2 separate regions of the Homo sapiens genome follow, and region 2 is linked to region 1. Evidence: promoter capture Hi-C in 16 types of primary human blood cells and fetal thymus (Javierre and others, 2016). All regions are on one chromosome and are shown on one strand. The core of a region is centred on a gene start or on the middle of the fragment in contact, and the rest is flanking DNA. Distances in the headings are between cores, read along the strand shown.

Region 1 (6,590 bases), core at 4,068-6,567:
CCTGAGTAGCTGGGACTACAGGCACACACCACCAGATTGTTGTTGTTTTAAGACACTAAATTTTGGTGGGATTTACTACAACAGTAACCAGAACAGCATGTTCTAGGGGAATGGAAGTCTTCAGAAGGACATGAAAGCCAGCCTCAAGTATCTGAGGGGCTTCAGGTATAGCAGGAGTTAGATTTGGAGGCTGGGCATGGTGGCTCATGCCTGTAATCCCAGCGCTTTGGGAGGCTGAGGCAGGTAGATCACTTGAGGTCAGGAGTCTGAGACCAGCGTGGCCAACATGGCGAAACCCCTTCTCTACTAAAAATACAAAAAATTAACCATGTGTGGTGGTGTGTGCCTGTAATCCCAGCTACTCGGGAGGCTGAGGCAGGAGAATCACTTGAACCTGGGAGGCGGAGGTTGCAGTGAGCCGAGGTTGCGCCACTGCACTCCAGCCTGGGTGATACAGCCAAGACCCCATCTCAAAAAAAAAAAAAAAAAAAAAAAAAAAGGGAGTTAGATTTGGCATGGGAAGCAGGAGAAGGCAGCACTTCTGTCACTAGGTGGAATGCCCAGGGATGCAAATCTGATTCTTCATGGAGGCCTTTCCTAGGCGAAGAACTTGAGGAGTCCCCTGACTGAGTTCAGCTTCTCTTCCAATTTGAGAACTCTGTCAGCGGAATCCAAGCACGGAATGGGTGGCCGTTTTGGGGGCTGTTGTAAAAAGGTCCACAGGACTCCCAAAGGCCCTTCAAACGCTAAAAAGACATAATTCCTAATGATGTAAGGCTAAACTGTTTTGAAAAAGAAATGTTTAGTAAACTTTTATTTATTTATTTATTTATTTATTTTTGAGACAGAGTCTTACTCTGTCACCCAGGCTGGAGTACAGTGGCATGATCTTGACTCACTGCAACCTCTTTTCTCCCCGGTTCAAACAATTCTTATGCCTCAGCTTCCCAAGTAGCTGGGATTACAGGCATGTGCCACCATGCCCAGATAATTTTTTTGTATTTTTAGTAGAGACAGAGATTCACTGGGTTGGCCAGGCTGGTCTTGAACTCCTGGACTCAAGTGATCCGCCCACCTCAGTCTCCCAAAATGCTGGGATTATAGGTATGAGCCACCATGCCCAGACTAGTAAACTCTTCATAGAAGAGGTGAGGACTAATCTGGTCTTTAAAGTTGGAAAGGGTCAGGAAAGCAGAAAGAAGAGTCACTCTGCAAAGAACCAATGGGAACTGTTTTTCTAACCTGTAACACCAAATGAATCATGCCCCTCTCACCTTAAGACCTATTCTTCTTCTCAACTATTCGTGGTGTTATGGGCCATCATCCTCCCAATCCCTTTCTCAGTCACTTGCAATCCTTTGCCTCCCTCAATCTTCACATCCCATTGGTTGCTAAATTGTTCCACTTTTCTCGCAGTAAGTTCTGCGTCTGTTCCTTCTGCTCCATTTGTGCTATCATTGGCTTTGTTCATGCTATCATCACCTCTGGATGATGATATCATCACCTCATCTGGATGACTACAATAGTCCTCTGGATGGATACAGTGTTGCCAAATTAATTACCCTGAATCAATGCTCTGAATATGTCAATCCCTGGCTCCAAATCCAAATGCTTCATTCAGTTCCTATTGCCTTTACAATAAACATGAAATTTCTTAGGCACTCAAGGCTTTCATGATCTGGCAGAGAATGAGGGAGAAGGAGAAAATGAGACAGAGAAGGGATTGATTAAATTTTGTATATCCTCCCTTCCTTTCTTCCTTCCTTCCTTTTCTTTCATCCTTCCTCTCTTTCTTTATTTTTTTGAGACTGAGTCTCACCCTGTTGCCCAGGCTGGAGTGCAGTGGTACAATCATGGCTCACTGCAGCCTTGACCTAGGCTTTCTAGCAATCCCCCCTGCTTCAGCCTCCCAAGTAGCTGGGATCACAGGCACACGCCATCACGCCTGGCTAATTTTTTATTTTTTGTAGAGACAGAGTCTCCCTATGTTGCCCAGGCTGGTCTCAAACTCCTGGGCTCAAGTGATCCTCCCACCTTTGCCTCCCAAAGTGCTGAGATTTCAGGCATAAGCCACTGCGCCTGGCCTCTGTATTAGTTTCTTAAGACTACTGTAACAAATGACCATGAAATGGGTGGCATAAGACAACAGAAATTTAGTGTCTCAGAGTTCTGGTGGCTAGAAGTCCCAAATCAAGGTGTCAGCAGAGCCGTGTTTCCTCCGGAGGCTTCCTTTCCTCCTCCTAGCTTCTGGTGGCTCCTGGCAAACCTCGGTGTTCCTTGGCTTGTGGCTGCATCACTCCAATCTCTGCCTCTGTCTTCACATGGTCTTCCTCCCTGTGTATCCAAATCCCCCTCTCCTTTCTCTAATAAAGACACTAGTCAGGCCAGGTGCGGTGGCTCACACCTGTAATCCCAACACTTTGGGAGGCCGAGGTGGGCAGATCACCTGAGGTCAGAAGTTCGAGAGCAGCCTGGGCAACACAGCAAAACCCCATCTCTACTAAAAATACAAACATTAGCTGGGCATGACGGCACATGCCTGTAGTCCCAGCTACTTGGGAGGCTGAGGCAGGAGAATCGCTTGAACCTGGAAGTGGAGGTTGCAGTAAGTTGAGATCGTGCCACTGCACTCCAGCCTGGGCAACAGAGCGAGACTCTGTCTCAAAAAAAAAAAAAAAAAAAAAGACACTAGTCATTAGATTTAGGGACCATCCTAACCCAGTATGGCCTCATCCTAATTTTATTTCTGCCAAGACCCTGTTTCCAAATAAGGTCACATTCACAGGTACTGGAGGTTATGGCTTGTACATACCTTTTTGGGAGTTACAAATTCAACCCTCTACAATTCCCACTGATAGAAACTACCAGAGCAATGGCTTAGCATAGGGATGGTATCTTGCTTGTGAAAAGGTCCTGGATAAAGAATTTCAGGAATGGTGGGAGGTAATATTAAACAGAGAGGTTTTTTGTTTGTTTGCTTGTTTTTGAGGTGGAGTTTGGCTCTTGTTGCCCAGGCTGTAGTGCAACGGTGCGATCTTGGCTCACCGCAACCTCCGCCTCCCAGGTTCAAGCGATTCTCCTGCCTCAGCCTCCCAAGTAGCTGGGATTACAGGCATGTGCCATCACGCCTGGCTAATTTTGTATTTTTAGTGGAGACGGGGTTTCTCCATGTTGGTCAGGCTGGTCTCGGACTCCCGACCTCAGGTGATCTGCCAGCCTCGGCCTCCCAAAGTGCTGGGATTACAGGCGTGAGCCACCGTGCCCAGCCTGAGAGTTTTTTGAACAATAGAATACCATGCACGATTAAAGGATAAAATTTTAATTTTGTGAAAAATCAGTCTGGAAGCTGGATTTAGGAGTGATTAGAGGAGGCAAAGCTAGGAGGGTTAACAGGATGTCTCAGCAGCCCAAAAGTGAAGAGGTAAGCACAGACCTAGATTCTTAGCCTCAGAGGGCTGGAAATTTCACCTCTTTCTGAGCAGCAGCTGAGAGCCTGTAGCCTAAAGCCTACAACAGTGTTTGTAACATAGTAGGGCGCTCAGAACACATTTGTTGAACAAGTGAATGGACAGGTAAAGTGAGATTGCAGCAGCAGGAATGGAGAGGAGGAAAGATGCAACAGGCCCTTCAGAGGTAGACTGAGATAGCTGGCTCTACAATAAGGTGGGGCTGAAGTATTTGTCCTTCAGTGTACACAGGGGACTGGTTCCAGGAACATCCAAAACCATGCATACTCAAGTCCCACAGTCAGCTCTGCAGAACCCACAAATAGGAAAAGTTGGATCTCTCAGTTTTGAACCTGCCAAATACTGTCTTTTCTTTTTTCTCCCTTTTTTTTTTTGAGACAGGGTCTTGCTTTGTTGCCTAGGCTGGAGTGCAGTGGTGCGAACATGGCTCACTGCAGCCTCAACCTTCCAGGCTCAAGTGATCCTCCCACCTCAGCCTCTCCAGTAACTAAGACTACAGGCACCTGCCACCATGCCCGGCTATTTTTTAAATTTTTATGTTTGGCAAGATGGGGTTTCTTTACATTGCCCAGGCTGGTCTCGAACTCCTGGCCTCAAGTGATCCTCCCGCCTCGGCCTCCCAAAGTGTTGGGATTACAGGCGTAAGGCACTGTGCCAGAGCACGAATACTGTATTTTCAATCAGATTTTGGTTGAAAAAAAGCCACGTGTAAGTGGACTCGTGCAGTTCAAACCCGTGTTGTTCGAGGGTCAAGCGTAGCATCACCTCGGTTGGAGGCGGACGGACCCCTCTCCTAGCACCTGCCGTACACTGTCTAGCATAATAAGTCTCCACGCCCTCTCTTCCACCTTAGCGTGTGCCTCTGCATCATGCTATTCATGTTTCTGTGTGTCCTCAACAGCACCCTGCACACAGTAAAACCTCAATGCATCTTCCAATAAGTGGATTTCTAGATTTAAGCAAAATCGAAAGATTCCTGGATCTAAACTCTGGATTTTTGACTTCTGTACGCTTCAAAATGCCTGGCACTCGGTGAGCGCCCCTTAAGCACTTGTTGAACCAAACAGAATAAATCGGATTCGCCCAGTTCCGCCCTGGCAGCGAGGTCTGCATTTGGCAGGATGACAGAATCCATTGCTATTAAATTCTTATGTAAGAGTTAATGGCCCTCCCAGCCCACTTGACATCCCTCCCGAGACAAGAGAGGCCGGGAAAGGAAGGGAGAGCACTATTTACAAACATACACTGTTTCGGTGGTGGATTCACAGATTCATTTCTAGTCTCGGTTCACCACAGAGATCTTAAAATACCGCTGCAGGCTCCGTGTGGGACAGAGGGGGCGGCGTGCCGGGACTCGGAGGGGAAGGCCTGCGCACCCAGCGCGGCGAGCCGTGGTCCTTGCTGCCGTCCCGGGGCTCCGGGTGGCAGCGGCCCCAGAAGGCGGCTCGAGCTCACGGCGGTGTCCGGGGGGGGGCCCCGCGGGCGCCGGTGCAGGCTTGGCCTGGGAGGTCCCCTGGGGAAACAATGCGTCCCGCCCCGGACTCCAGCCTCCCCTAAGCGCCGCGCTGCTCGCCGCTCCTCTCACTGCCGTCCCGCCGCTCCAGGGGGCGCCGCGCGTGGCCGTGTCCGGCCTCTCCCGAGCCCCGGCGGGTGACGGGCGCGGAACATGGCGGCGCGGGGCCCCGGGCAGCCGCGAGGGGCCGCGGCGCTGCGGTCTCGGCTGGGGCGGCGCGGCTAGAGCTGCGCCTGGGCCCGCCGGCGAGGCCTCCTCCCCGCCCGCCGCCGCCGCCGCCGCCGCCGCGCCCCGCCCCGCGCGCCCGCCCCTCCCCGGGCCGCGGCCGTGCCCCGCGTCGCGCTCCCCCGGGATGGCCCGCGCGCCTCGGCGCTGCCTCTCGGAGCTCACGGCGGAGCGGCGGCGGCCGCGCTCGAGGGGCGCGCGGCTGCAGCGGCGGCGGCGCCGCGCGTGAGGGGCCGCCTAAGGCCGAGCGGGCGCGGCGAGCGGCCGGGCGAGCGCAGCCAACATGTCGGATACCAAGGTAAAAGTTGCCGTCCGGGTCCGGCCCATGAACCGACGAGGTGAGGAGCTTTCCGCTCTTTTTTATTTCTGCTCGGGCTGAGGGCGGGGGCAACTTTAGAAACTGCGGGGCCGGGACGGCGAGAGCGCGGCCGGGGCCGGGGGGCCGGGGCGGAGGCGGCGTCCGCGCTGGCCGTGGTGCCCGGGGCGCCGTCTCCAGGCTCGGCCGCCTCCAGGGACGGAGCCCCGCTCGGCGCGGCTGGCGGGCGGGCGGGCTGGAGGCGCGGATGCTGGACTTTGCAACGTCCCTTTCTCTCTGCTTTCAGAACTGGAACTGAACACCAAGTGCGTGGTGGAGATGGAAGGGAATCAAACGGTCCTGCACCCTCCTCCTTCTAACACCAAACAGGGAGAAAGGTAAAGCGGGTTCCGAGAGGGCGGCTGGGAGGATCCAGCCTCGCGGGGTCCCGCAAGTTTGAGCCAGGAAAATGGGAGTGCTCTTTCCTATTGTTAGGAGGACGGCTTCAAGTTTGTCGCCGGCTCCTGTTTGAAGCTGTTGCAAGTCCAAGTTCCTCTCCTCCCTCGCCCCCCTTCTCCTCCATCTAGAGCGGCGGCAGGCAGGGCACCCTGGCCACAGCACCAGTCAGCTGAGCCCGGGCGGGCTGCGAGGCACCCGGGAGGGAGAGGGCCGGATGGGACCCCATAGGTGATTCGTCCAGCGGCCACATTTTACAGACAGGAAAACTGAGGCCCGAGGCGGGCAGGTGACCAGCCCACGACCTTATTGTTCGTGGAACCCAGTGTCCGTGATTCTTTTCATCACTGCAGGGTTTGTTTCCTTTGGCAGAATTGTTTAGGGACAGTGTGTCTAAAATGGGAGGAAAAAATAAAGCAAAAGTCTTGTACGATGTAGACTCAGGCTGGACTAGTTAGTATCTATTTTAGTTGTTGTTGCTGAGTTGAGATAATGCCTCAATGTAATGCGCGAATTTTGATTTTCAAAGAAACAAAAGTAGGGCCCTGAACTGTATAGACACTGAGGGATGTTTAAAAAGGGGCTGTATTTACTAGATGGCAACATATTTGCATTTGAAAAGTGGTAACTGTTG
Region 2 (5,941 bases), core at 2,097-4,596, 110 kb after region 1:
GGTCTCGTGCCCTTTTATTGGCAAAAACAACTTTAAATGATTAACTCTTTGATTGTTAGAAGTTTTCACAGACTTTGGAATAATTCTTACTGACAGGTAGACCCTCAAAATTTGGGGTAGATCTCTTTTATTTTAAGTAGCATTACTATGAATGTAAATGTCTAGCTTTCTAACTTTATTTGAAGAATAGCAAATTGTTAAATTAAGTTTGACCTGGATGCAGTGGCTCATGCCTGTAATACCACACTTTGGGAAGCCAAGACAGGAGGATCGCTTGATCCCAGAAGTTAAGACCAGCCTTGGCAACACAACATGACCCTGTCTCTATAAAGAAAACAAAAATGAAAAAAAAAAAAAAAGTTAGAGGTAGGCATGAAAAATTAACATGTAGAAAATAAATTATTATTCCACTACATATAGCAATAACTGAAGAAGTGAATAAATGATTATTCCACTATATATAACAATAACTGTGTTCAAAACACAGTCCTTGAACACACAGGCACTCTCTGCCCCAGTGCCTTTGCACCTGCTATTCCATCTGGCTGTCATGCTTTTCCACAGGCTTTCATAGGACCTGCTCCAGTTTTTTCCAGTGCCCCCTTGCTGTTACATTTTTGTGTCACTGATTACCTCCTGGCGTCATATGTGTTTATTGGTTGCTTGCATATTGCTTCTCTCCCTTCACCTCACTGGGAGCTTCATAAGGGACATGAATAATATAAGTATTACTACAGATAATGCAAGTAATAGGATACTCATGAGCTCCACGAGTCTTTGCATGTTTTTTGACTGCTATAATTCTAGCGCTTAGCACACAATAGGTACTCAATAAATATTTGTGAATGGATAAGTGAATTAATGAATTAGATGGCTACTACTAGGCCTGATTTGTAGTCATGCTCAGTAAATACTGACTGCAAATTTTTTTAGTGCAGAAACCAGAAGTTATTGAAAGCAGCACAGAATGAGGTTGAAAACCAAAGGTTCTTGGTGGGAGGATTTTTTTTTTCTTAATATTTAGGATGACGCATGTCACTGAAATTCACCATGGATCAAGCTTGGGCACAGTGCCCGGGATATAAGAAGGAGAGCGGTAAAGATACTTCAAAAAAAACAAAAAGAAAAGAAAAGAAAGGAAAATAGCCTCTATTGGCTGTTTAAAGTAAGGAGAGTTGACTTAGGTCAAAAGAAAAGGGAAATGTCCTGGAAATAAAAGTTAAGTATTATAAGATGCCATTAAAGGGAGTTTGTGGAATCTCCTTTTCTGGAGATGTTTAAAAACAAGATAGATCATCATCTCTTAGAAGTGTTGAAGTTCAGTCCTACCCAGAGGCAGGAAGATTAACTGGATTACGCCTGTGTGGTCGGTCTCTAGAGTCATTGGAAGAGCCCTTGAATGCAGTAAATATTCCACATTCTCTTGGCTGAAACTATTGTTTCATAACTGTTCATTTGAAACTTGGTTATTATAAAACCAGAGTGAATGTTTGTTTAAGTAACAAAATTGAATTTGGATCTCGGGTTGATGATGTAAGTTGAGTACATCATATATACCTAAATCAGTTTTAAAAACATTAAAATAAAGTATATATAGTGCTGAAACTATTCAGAACATAACTTAGTCTTTTTTTTTTTTTTTTTTTGGCAAGAGAGAGAGAACATTGCGTATAACTTACTAGTCTTTTATAATGTAAAAAAATGCCTGTTTCCCTGCGAGATCTTAATGCCATTAAGTACATCAATAAGTAATTATAAAGTGACTACTATAAACATTGCAGGCTTCAAAGATGAATTCGATATGGATCCTGCTTTCAGGGAACTTAGTCTACAAGTGGAGATGAAACATATATACAGGCCGGGCACAGTGGCTCATGCCTGTAATCCCAGCACTTTGGGAAGCCAAGGTGGGAGGATTGCTTGAACCCAAGAGTTTGATACCAGTCTGGGCAACATGGCGAAGTCCCATCTCTACAAAAAACACAAAAATTAGTTGGGCATGGTGGCATGTGCCTGTAGTCCCAGCTACTCAGGAGGCTGAGGAGGTAGGATCAATTGAGCTGATTGAGGCTGCAGTGAGCCATGATAGTGCCAGTGCACTCCAGTCTGGGCAACAGAGGGAGACCCTGTCTCTGAATGAATGAATGAATGAATGAATGAATGAATGCTGTCTCACACACACAGATCATATACATGATAAATGAAAAATAAAATAATTGAGATAGGAGCCATAAAAAAGGACTAAACAGTGTTGTAAGGTTTCAGAGAAAGAAAAGATGATTCCTTTGGATTTAACCAAGAATGCTTCTGGGAGGAAAAATGTATCGAACTGGGCCTTAAGGGGTATGACGTATTTTGAAGGGTGGAAATGAAGGAGAGAACAAGGACAGAGATGAAATTATACTTAGTAATTCTGAGGTAAGGACAAGTTCCACTGGAGCATGAGGAATTTGGGGTTAATAGGCTGGGAGGGCCTATTGTGGCTAGTCTCAAATGCCAGGCCAAAGAGCATGGGTTCTGTATGCTCAGTGCTTAAGATCTCTTGGAAGTGATTAAGCATTAAAGGATCCTGCCCATGGGAGGTTTGTAATTTGCTGTTTGGACTGCAAGAGATAAAGGGCAATAGCAGTGAGCCCAGGAAGGTAGCTGCTGAGTCACCTGGGCTGCATTTGCTAAGGGATATGCTGAGAAGTAGTAGTTCCAAGGCATGTTAATAAGTGTTAGTCCAAAAAGGGTCTCCTCACCAAAATGAATTGGGGAAATAAAATGTTAAACAATCAAATAGGCTTCTTTCCTGGACTTCATTTCTGAAAAGTCTCTGGAAGACTTTTTAGAGCCTTTAATATTGAGAATTTCATTGAGAATCTCAAATAGGATAAAACGTGCACCACTTCCAACATGATTTGGTCTTTTTTCATGGAGTAGCTCATGAAACTCTGGTTCCTTAGAACACACTTTGGGGAACATTGCTCTACACATTTGATAATAACAGCTGGAACACAAGTGGTGGTAATGGGCATGAAAAACAGCAGTTAGGGCCAGGCATGGTGGCTCACGCCTGTAATCTCAGCACTTTGGGAGGCTGAGGCAGGCAGATCATTTGAGGTCAGGAGTTTGAGTCCACCCTGGCCAACATGGTGAGACCTCGTCTCTACTAAAAATACAAAAATTAGCTGGGCATAGTGGTGCGTGCCTGTAGTCCCAGCTACTTGGGAGGCTGAGGCAGGAGAATTGCTTGAACCCAGGAGGCAGAGGCTGCAGTGAGCTGAGATCATGCCACTGCACTGCAGCCTGGGTGACAGAGTGAGACTCTGTCTCAAAAAAAAAAAAAAAAGGAAAAGAAAAAACAGCAGTTTGATGGGAGTCCTTACAGGGGAAGCACCAAGAAGCACCAGCCATTCCCGGTATATAGTAGGCATTCAGTAGCTATACAGAAAGTTAATTCATGTAAAAGTGAATTAATGATTTCATACCAGTAGATGTTGGTGTGGATGCGGTCAACAGGGAACACTTTTACATTGCTAGTGGAAATGTAAACTAGTACAACCACTATGGAAAACAGTGTGGAGATTCCTTAAAGAACTAAAAGTAGAACTACCATCTGATCCAACAATCCCACTCCTGGGTATCTATCCAGAGGAAAATAAGTCATTATACGAAAAAGATACTTGCACATGCATGTTTATAGTGGCACAGTTCACAATCGCAAAATCGTGGAACCAACCCAAATGTCCATCAGTCAACAAGTGGATAAAGGAACCATGCTGTGTGTGTGTGTGTGTGTGTGCGTGCGTGTGCGTGTGTGTGTGTGTGGTGGAATACTACTTAGCCATAAAAAGGAATGAATTAACGGCATTTGCAGCGACCTGCATGAGATTGGAGACTATTGTTCTAAATGAAGTAATTCAGGAATGGAAAACCAAACGTTGTATGTCCTCACTGATATGTGGGAGCTAAGCTATGAGGACAGAAAGGCATAAGAATGATACAGGGGAGTTTGGGGATTTGAGGGGAAGAGTGGGAGAGGGGCGAGGGATAAAAGACTACAAATATGATGCAGTGTACACTGCTCAGGTGATGGGTGCACCAAAATCTCACAAATCACCACTAAAGAACTAACTCATGTAACCAAATACCACCTGTACCCCAATAACTTATAGAAAAATAAAAAAAGATAAAACATGAAATTAGCCAGGCATGGTGGCGAGCACCTGTAGTCCCAGCTACCCAGGAGGCTGAAGGCAGGAGAATTACTTGAGCCCGGGAGGCAGAGGTTGCGGTGAGCCGAGATCGCACCACTGCACTCCAGCCTGGGCAACAAAGCGAGACTCCAACTCAAAAAAAATTAAAATTTAAAAAATATGAAGAGATACTTTTACATGTAAAAGACATGCCAAATACTAAACATGTAAAATTGCTAAACATGTAAAGTTGCTTCACATCTTTACTTTTCGAGGAATTGTATATTAAAAATACAGTAAGAACCCCCCCCACCACCACCAAAAAACAAAAACAAAAACAAAAACATGCTTTGCTGGAGATTGCCTGCAGAGACAGAAGGGGAAAGGAGTGCAGGATGGGAATATGGAGAGTTTTGAACTTCAGTATGCTACAGATGATATCATGGAAAGCTAGGAGAAGGAACTGCTTTATATGAAAGTTGAGTATTGAGAAGCTGAGGGAGATCGACCTGGAAGGTTCCATGGTTGCTGAAACCATGGACTTGCGAGAGAAGATATTGTTTTTGTTTTTTGTGTTTTCTCATCAGATGTATTGTGGAAAAAAATATCTCGTTAAAATGTCTGGTTATTTGAATTCTAGATAAATAGTAATTTTCATATACAACTTATTCTAATACAGAAAGCTAACCATATATTTAGTCTAAAAGAAATATCATAGGGCCAGGCGCGATGGCTCACACCTATAATCCCAGTACATTTTGGGAGGCAGAAGAGAGAGGATTACTTGAGGCCAGGAGTTCGAGACCAGCCTGAGCAATAGGGCAAGACCTCCTGTCTGCAACAATTTTTTTTTTAATTGCTCGATATGGTGGCATGCACTGGTGGTCCTAGCTACTCAGGAGGCTGAAGCAGGAGGATCCCTTGAGCCCAGGAGTTTGAGGCTTCAGTGAGCTGTGATAGTTCAACTGCACTCCAGCCTGGATGACCCTGTCCCCCAAAAAAGAGGAAAATAAGAAATTTTATGGTTAACAAAAGCACCAAACCTATAGTGATTTTTTTCAGTCAGACAGTAGTGGCCATCCTTCTCATCTTCACCTGTGATTTATTTTAGTCTGATTTACTCATAAGAAGTTAATTAATCTTTAAGTTTAATATTTTGTTCTTTCATTCAGGTATTTGCCTTTGATTATTGCTTTTGGTCCATGGATGAATCTAACACTACAAAATACGCTGGTAAGTTTTCTCCCTCTACACCTGACAGTTGGGCTTCTGGCCTCTTCTTCCATTGAGTTTATTTTCTTTAATTCCTCTGGAGTTTTACTTTCCCTGTGTAATTCACACCTGTTCTTTCCAATTATACCACATGAGTTTTGAAGTCAATAAGATTTGGTTTCAGAATCTGGGTCTGCCACTTACTTGTAAAATCCTTGAACAGATTTTTATTAAGCTTCAAATTGTTCACCTGACCTCCTTGTGGTATTTTATCCTCATTCCATCCAACACAAATGACTGCTGTTTTATAATTTATGACCATAGGCTTTCCTAGGAGTCAGTCACAATTGCTTTAGTTCCAGAGGGAAGCATTTGGTTTGGTGGAGGAAGTTTTTGGTTCTTTTGCTTCTGATTATGCCCCCTTTTTCTTAGATATTTCATCTTTTTAAAAATTTATTTTTCGTCCGGGCATGGTGGCTCACATCTGTAATCCCAGCACTTTGGGAGGCCGAGGTGGGCGGATCACTTGAGGTCAGGAGTTCAAGACC

Evidence for each region. Contacts are between HindIII fragments. The CHiCAGO score rates a contact against its expected background, and 5 or more counts as called.
Region 2: a fragment that was not itself captured here is called in contact with the fragment with the promoter of KIF13A in region 1 in 3 of 17 cell types (neutrophils, monocytes and megakaryocytes); the score reaches 8.8 in neutrophils.

The regions. Positions count from the first base shown.
Region 1 is chr6:17,986,362-17,992,951 of GRCh38, reverse strand. KIF13A (kinesin family member 13A) reads left to right here and starts at 5,317. Exons shown (of 39, transcript NM_022113.6): 1 at 5,317-5,543; 2 at 5,808-5,898. The coding sequence starts at 5,489. RefSeq lists silencers at 4,742-5,241, 5,612-5,731. The HindIII fragment of the contact is 11,131 bases long and covers 1-6,590 here.
Region 2 is chr6:17,872,850-17,878,790 of GRCh38, reverse strand. It overlaps KIF13A (kinesin family member 13A), which reads left to right. Exons shown (of 39, transcript NM_022113.6): 4 at 5,354-5,414. Among named protein-coding and RNA genes, the nearest start is that of KIF13A, 110 kb to the left of the region's middle. The HindIII fragment of the contact is 4,568 bases long and covers 1,063-5,630 here.